Linked DNA regions of Homo sapiens: region 1 is linked to region 2. Evidence: promoter capture Hi-C in 16 types of primary human blood cells and fetal thymus (Javierre and others, 2016). All regions are on one chromosome and are shown on one strand. The core of a region is centred on a gene start or on the middle of the fragment in contact, and the rest is flanking DNA. Distances in the headings are between cores, read along the strand shown.

What was found. Contacts are between HindIII fragments. The CHiCAGO score rates a contact against its expected background, and 5 or more counts as called.
Region 1: a fragment that was not itself captured here is called in contact with the fragment with the promoter of SERPINB6 in region 2 in 1 of 17 cell types (monocytes); the score reaches 5.3 in monocytes.

The regions. Positions count from the first base shown.
Region 1 is chr6:2,865,017-2,868,751 of GRCh38, forward strand. It overlaps the pseudogene SERPINB9P1. Among named protein-coding and RNA genes, the nearest start is that of MIR4645, 13 kb to the left of the region's middle. RefSeq lists enhancers at 1,671-1,780, 1,801-1,950. The HindIII fragment of the contact is 2,553 bases long and covers 1,101-3,653 here.
Region 2 is chr6:2,968,993-2,972,979 of GRCh38, forward strand. SERPINB6 (serpin family B member 6) reads right to left here and starts at 2,575. Exons shown (of 7, transcript NM_004568.6): 1 at 2,541-2,575. RefSeq lists an enhancer at 2,356-2,880. The HindIII fragment of the contact is 12,287 bases long and covers 1-3,987 here.

The DNA.
Region 1 (3,735 bases), core at 1,127-3,626, 100 kb before region 2:
CCAGAGTGTTGAGAAGAGAGGGCAACAGCAGCAACGGACCAGGCATAACCAAATGGAGACGGGGCAGCCTGTTGTGGGGAGGGTCAGTCGTAAAATAATCGGCCCATTTGTCCATTGTATTCCATGACCAGATTTTAAGCTCCTTGAAGATGGGATTCTGTCGTGATTTTGTGACCCCCCTCCCTTCACCTTGCAACACGTAGGATAGAACTCACTGAGCATTTGTCTCTGAAGAAGAAAGGAATCTTTCTTTCCCTCCCTCCCTTCCACTCGCTCTCCCTCCTTCCTCCCTCCCTCCCCGCTTCCCTTCCCCTCCCCTCCCCTGCACTCCCCTCCTCTCTGCTTCTCTTTCTTTCTCAGGATCTCACTCTGTCACCCAGGATGCAGTGCAGTGGTGTAACCTCAGTTGACTGCAGCCTCGACCTCCTGGGCTCAAGCAAACCTCCTACTTCAGCCTCCTGAGTAGCTGGGATTACAGGCGTGTGCCATCACGCCCGGCTAATTTTATTTATTTTTTGTAGAGACAAGGTCTCACTAGGTTGCCCAGGATGGTCTCAAACTCCTGGCCTCAAGTGATCCTCCCACATTGGCTTCCCAAATTTCTGGGATTACAGGTGTGAGCCACCAGTCCGGGCCAGAAAGGAAACTTTTTATCTGAGGAATATGAACCCCTTTAAGTCATCAGGTCCAGACAGGCATTGAAATGTGACAGTAGTCACATCTCACTCACTGCTTGAGCTATGTATGTATGTAATCTGCCTGCTATGTGGACTCTTGACCCAATGCCACCACCAATAGCTATAAATTAACCTAACGACGGCATATGCTGGACAACATAACTTATACCCTATAGTTCAACTATAGCCAATCACTAATCAATGTTATTTCTGTAAACCAATGAGAATTCTTAACCAACAATGTTGGTAATTGCCTCCTCTCCTGATTCATCCTTTGTTCTCTGGGCACTTCCCAAGACAACTTGGAAGTGTTTCCCAAGCAGCTGTTCTCAACCCTGACCCAAATAAACTCTCATATTAATTTTGCCTCAGCTTCTTCCTGTCAGTCGACAACTCCTAACTAGCTATTTTCATCCCTTTTCAAGCTTCCTAAGAGGTTACTTTCATTTAGGTTCGTGATATAATAAAAAATATATCTGGTGTTTATCCCCAGTTCCCGGCACAGAGCTCCTAAAACCCTTGGAATTTCCTGAGTAATGCGAGTGTGTTTTGCTATTCAAAATGAGCCGCTTTAGCTACACCTGAGCTTATGCTGATGAGGCGGCTCTTGGTGATCCCCTGGGGAGGGAAGAAGGGCTGGGAATTGAGTTCAGCCACCAATGGCCAGTGAATTAATCAATAACACCTATGTAATGGAACCTCCATAAAAATCAAAAAGACCAGGTTGAGGGAGCATGTGGGTTAATGAACAGACAGGTGCTGAGAGGGTGGAGTGTCTAGAGAGGGAATGGAAGCTCTCTGCACGCACCCCCGACCCCCCTTAACTTGCTCTCTGCATCTCTTCCACTGGTTGTTTCTGCCTTTATAATAAACTGGTGATAATAATAAAGTGCTTTCTTGAGTTCTGTGAGTCATTCTAGTAAATTATTAAGCCTGAGGGAGGTTATGGGAATCCCCAAATTTGTACTTGGCCGGGCAGCAGTGTGAAGAGCCTGGGCACCCCATTTGTGACAGGTGTCTGAAGAGGGGGTAGTCTTGGGGGCTGAGCCCTCTAACTGGACGTTAAGTACTGTCAGAATTGAATTGAATTGTTGGACACCCAGTTGGTGTCAAAGAACTGATTGGTGTGAGGAAAAAAACCTCTTAAAGGTCTTTACTCCCACTTACTGGTAGTGTTGCTAAGTTCATAATGCCTTTTTCTTATCACTCATGGCTTCATTAGGCTTGACTTACTGGTCTTACTTGCCTAGATTGGTCTTGAACTCCTGGGCTCAAGCCATCTTCCTGCCTTGGCCTCCCAAAGTGCTGGGATTGCGGGTGTAAGCTACCATGCCCAGCCTCAGTGTTTTTAATACACACAATAAAACTTATTACCTTAAAAATTAAACTTCTCATGTTAGTCTAAAACAAGTTCCAAATGAGTTAATGCAAAAACACAAAATTATAAAAGCTCTAAGGAAAAAGACAAGTGAATATTTATATAATCTGAGTGTCAAGAAGACTTTCTATGCAAGACTCTGGAGGAAGAAAACAAAAAAAATACTAAAGTGGACTATTTAAATAAAAAAAGTTCTTTACTTAAAATATTAATAACACTAATATGTAAATTAAAAGCACGGGAATTATCTTGCGATATGTATATAACATTAAGAAAAATCTATTGGTAGAGAGTGCTTAAAAACTGCAAGACAAAAAAATGAATATCCCAAGGACAAAAGTAGGCAAATAAAAATAGGCTAATTCTAAAAGAAGTATGGGTGACTAATAAATGAAAATTTAAATAATGACGTGCAATTTTCCTCCCATCAAATTATCAAAGTGATATCTGTAATGGTAAAAATATAAATAGCTGGAATGTCTGTTTTTACATGATTGAATAATACATTATGGTTAAGTTACCTAATGGATCACAAGGTAGCCATTATAAATGATGCCAGAGAGATGTATTGACATTTAACAAAGCCCAGGCGATTTTCTGTTGCATGAAATATGCATAGGCACGAGAGCTCTGATTTAGCAGCTAAAAACATGAAGATCCAGAAATACTTTATTTCATGCATCTTTTCTTCTCCCAACCCTATTCTGGCTGAAATCGACTAAAATGAATACCACTGGCAACCTTGTTCGTGGGATATTGTACAAGAATGAGCTCTTAAATCAATGTGTCAGAAAATGAAGGAGACACAATGCTGAGGTGGTGTTCTGGATTAAAAGAATTTTAAGCAACATCACAATGAAATTTGATGCATAACCCTTGAATGGATTCTTGCTCAAATAAACAAGCTATAAAAGTATCTCCAAGACCGCTGGAAAATTTGAATATGGATTCAGTATGACAAACTAATTGTTCATTTTAATAAGTATGAGGTATTACGGTTACATAGGAAAATGCCCTTTTAAAAAATAAAAAATGCACATTTAGGGGTATATAAAAACGTATTTAGGGGTAAAAAGTAATGTATATAATTCACTGATTTTTTAAAATGTCCAATCCAATATTAAGTTCATCTGCCAAATGTTTCATTTTAAATGTTTCAGAATTTTTTTTTTTGAGATGGAGTCTCGCTCTGTCGCCCAGGCTGCAATGCAGTTGCGCAACCTCGGCTTACTGCAAGCTCCGCGTCCTGGGTTCACGCCATTCTCCTACCTCAGCCTCCCAGTAATTTTTAAGTTTCTATTTTTCTGTTGAGGTTTTCTATCTGTTCACTCGCTATGCCATCTACTCCTTAAATCCTTTAACATATTTCTAAGAGTTGCATTGCAGTCTTTGTTAATTTTAACATTTGTCTCACTTTCGTGTGTTTTTATTGACTTTTTCCTGGTTATGGGTCATACTTACACTACGTAGGTTTAATAACTTTTTAAAATATGCTAGACATTTCAGCATGTAGTTGAGAGTCCAGAGATCTCAGGCCTCAGGACTAGGGCTAGTATAGCCCTAGAAGATTATTCTAAACTATTATCTAATAAAAACCAAGCTTCCACAAGATCCAAACCAACCCACCAGTTGTTTCGTATACATTGTCCAGTTTACGGTTAATAACAATGGGAGGATAAC
Region 2 (3,987 bases), core at 1,325-3,824:
TCCCCCACAGTGCCTGCAGGACCCTGAGTTTGAGCATTTTCATTATCACTTCGCAATAATGCATAAACACTGAACAATTAATCATAAAAAAGATTGGAGAGATCCAAATCCTAAAAGGAAAGAAAAAATAAATCCACATTTAAAGTTTACCACTCAAGATACTCCAAATATCAACAAATTATAAACAATCTAGTGAGATTTTTCTATCGAGGGCTTTCTGTTATCCTTTCAGCAAACGTGTGAGTAACAAGGATGCCTGTTTCACAGTCACGTTGCAAACTCAAGACCTGTCAATGGCTTTTTAAGGACCTACTTCTTTAGCTTCAGTAAATAAGATAGCTAAGTGTCCTTCATATATATATGTGAATACACATGTATATATGTACATAGACAAATATTTATGCAAAATTAATTGTTTCAAAATTTAAAAACTATACCATTTAAAAATAAAAAATGATATTTAATCACAGACATAAAAACTGGATATTAAAGTCTTATTAATGAACAATTTTATGTATTTTTTAAACAAGCCTAACAAATCTATCCTGGCATCACTTTTTTTTTCCTGTAGCATCACCAGTAACTGAGCAATGTTCACAATTGATTTTATTCAACTAATCAAGTCTTAATTTTTTTTTAGGTGTCACTATTGAATTGTGCTTCTCAACTTCTATTAAGGATGCCTTTATTTCCTACTAAATTTAACCATTTAAAGACTGGTTTAATGGAAACTTGGACTTCCTGCTTTGTCCCTCTGTTTCCTTGTGCAGTGTGTATGTGTGTGTGTGTGTGTGTTGTGTGTGTATGTGTTTAATATATCTGAGCAGCCTAACATATAAATGGGAGTTAAACATTATTTTCAGGCTAGGCGCAGTGGCTCACATCTGTAATCCCAGCACTTTGGGAGGCCAAGGCGGGCAGATCACGAGGTCAGGAGTTTGAGACCAGCCTGGCCAGCATGGTGAAACCCCATTGCTACTAAAAATACAAAAATTAGCCAGGTATGGAGCCCGGGAGGTGGAGGTTGCAGTCAGCCGAAATCGCACCACTGCACTCCAGCCTGGCAAAAAAAAAAAAAAAAAAAATTTTCTTTCTTTGGATGCCTTGGCTTAATCCCAAGTGCAGTAAGCCTGGAAATGTAAGGTGTGTGGTCTTCCCTGGGACCGTACAACATCTGCTTGGGTGCCCTTATTATTACATATGTGGAAAAGAATGTTGGTTCTATTCATGCTAATTTCACTCTACTGTTACTGGTCCGTGTTAACTGTTTCATGCTGAATTGTAATAAAATGCATTGGAATTGGCCTTAACTTAAAATACTTAGTTTACATAGTCGAGTATGACCAAAGTACTTTTCTCTTTGGTGGCACATCACAATGGATGCAATTACTCAGATACGGTCCTGAAATGAGAACAAACGCCATCTATGCTGATAACAGCAGTCACTGGTGTTAATCCCAGCACACATAAAAGCCCCAGCAATACAAGGCCGGCCCAGGACCTTAACTAGAAGGTCACTGAACACATCAGATCTCATCGCATCAGGCCTGACCCCCACCAGAAAGGATGCAGGCAGCTGCAGGGCTGTCATTAGGCACGAGAGCATCCCAGAAAGCAAAAGTGCCCAAAAAATGGACTCAGATGCCCCCTCGCATCTGAGTATTCCTGACAGCATGTGAACATTAATTATTAATTTTCTGTACCTCAGTTTTCCGAAGCCAATCTTTAGGACAAAAAAAAAAAAAAAAAAAAGGAAGAAAATAACTTAAATGCCAATTTGTAGTTAAAGTTTCCTCTTTGCCTTGAAGACATCAAAGCCTGTAATAGTTTGCCTGTAGGGAGTTTAATTCAAACACAGAGCGGTAAGGAGATCCGGGCTGGTCCACACGATCGTCTCCACAGGTCTGGGCGACCTGAAAGTGCTGCGGATTGGCCAAGCCCAGCACGGCCAGTCCAGTGAACACACGCAGGGGGCCCGGATGGCACCGTTTGGCGCCGAACCCCTCGGCCTCTCTCCGCCTCCCGCCCGGCTCCTAACACCCGGCGCCCCAAGACTGAGCACGCGTCCTCCGGGTCGCGGAGCGGGCGAGGGGTCACCGAGGCCGCGGGGCCGACCGGGGTCACCTGTGGCCCGGGAGGCTCTGCGCCGCCCCCATCCCGCGCCGGCCGCCTCTTCCGTGGGCGCTGGGCCTGGGCGCCCGGGGTCCTCGGGTCCGCGGCGTCACCGGCCGGGCTCGCGGCCACGCACGACTCACCCGGCCGCGTCGCCGTTCTCTGCCGCTGCGAGGCTCCGGAAGGGAACCCAAGCCGGACGCTCGCCCGGGCCCCCGCCCCGCTGGGACTGCTGGGGTCACAGCCCCGCGCGGCCACGCCCCATTCTCGGGGCTCCAGCGTCCCCGCGCGCCGTCGACCCACGCGCGTTCCCGGCCCCGCGCGACCCCCACCCTGCCCCCCTCCCCGCTCGCGCCCCCGGCTTTCCCGACTTTGGAGCGACAAACCCAAGCCAGCGTGTCCGAGCGGCTCCCAAGCCAGACACGTACTCCAGAGCGGGGAGCGAGCGAGCAGAACGGCGGGCAGAGGCGCCGGAGCCGCCCCGGACCTCAAATACTCGCGGGGAGGCGGGCGGAGTCCCGGGTCTCGAGCTACCGTCGCCCGTCCGGAGCGCGAAGGGAGAGGCGGGGCGGGACGTGCGGGTCAACCCCACCCGCCAGCCGGAGGGGCCGCGAGTCCTGCCCGGAGGCCTTGACTTTGACCACAGTACAGGGCCCCACCAGCGTGTTTATGGTGCCTCTGTGGAGACTGAATGCTGGCCTGTTTCCAGAAAAGGGCCGGCTCCTGATACACGGCCATCCACTGGGGAGTGCAGAACACGCATTTAAAAATGAGCAGACTAGATACAGGTCACAAAGACTTTGCTGATGAAACAGCTTGCGGCAAAGAAGCCAGCCAGGGGCGGGCGCGGGGCTCACGCCAGTAATCCCAACACTGGGAGGCCGAGGCAGGCGGATCACTGGAGGTCAGGAGTTCCAGACCAGCCTGGCCAACATGGCAAAACCCCGTCTCTACTAAAAATACAAAAATTAGCCGAGTGTAATGGCGCGTGCCTGTAATCTCAGTTGCTGGGGAAGCTGAGGCAGGAGAATCACTTGAACCCGGGAGGCAGAGGCTGCAGTGAGCCGAGATGGCGCCACCGCACTCCAGTCTGGTCCGTCTCAAAAAAAAAAAAAAAAAAAAAAAAAAAAAAAGTAGACTAAATAGCTTTTGCAAAGCAAAAGGAATAGTCAAGCAGAGTAAACAGACAACCTACAGAGTGGGAGAAAATCTTCACAATCTATACATCCGACAAAGCAGTAATATCCAGAATCTACAAGAAACTCAAACAAATTAGCAAGAAAAAAAAATCCCATCAAAAAGTGGGCTGGCATGAATAGACAGTTCTCAAAAGAGGATATGCAAATGGCCAACAAACAAGAAAAAATGCTCAACATCACTAATGATTAGGGAAATGCAAATCAAAACCACAATGTGATACCACCTTACTCCCGCAAGAGTGGCCTTAATCAAAAAATCAAAAACTCAAAAAATAATAGATGTTGGCGTGGATTTGGTGAAGAGGGAACACCTCTACACTGCTGATGGATAGTACAACCACTGTGGAAAATAGTATGGCGATTCCTTAAATAACTAAAAATAGAACTACCATTTGATCCAGCAATCCCACTACTGGGTATCTACGCAGAGGAAAATAAGTCATTATACAAAAAAGATACTTGCACACGCATGTTAATAGCAGCACAATTCGTAATTGCAAAAACATGAAACCAACCCAAATGCCCATCAATCAAAGAGTGGATAAAGAAACTGTGGTATGCGTATACGGTGGAATGCTACTCAGCCATAAAAAGGAATGAATTAATGGCATTGGCAACCTGGATGGGATTGGAGACTGTTGTTCTAAGTGAAGTAACTCAGGAATGGAAAACCAAA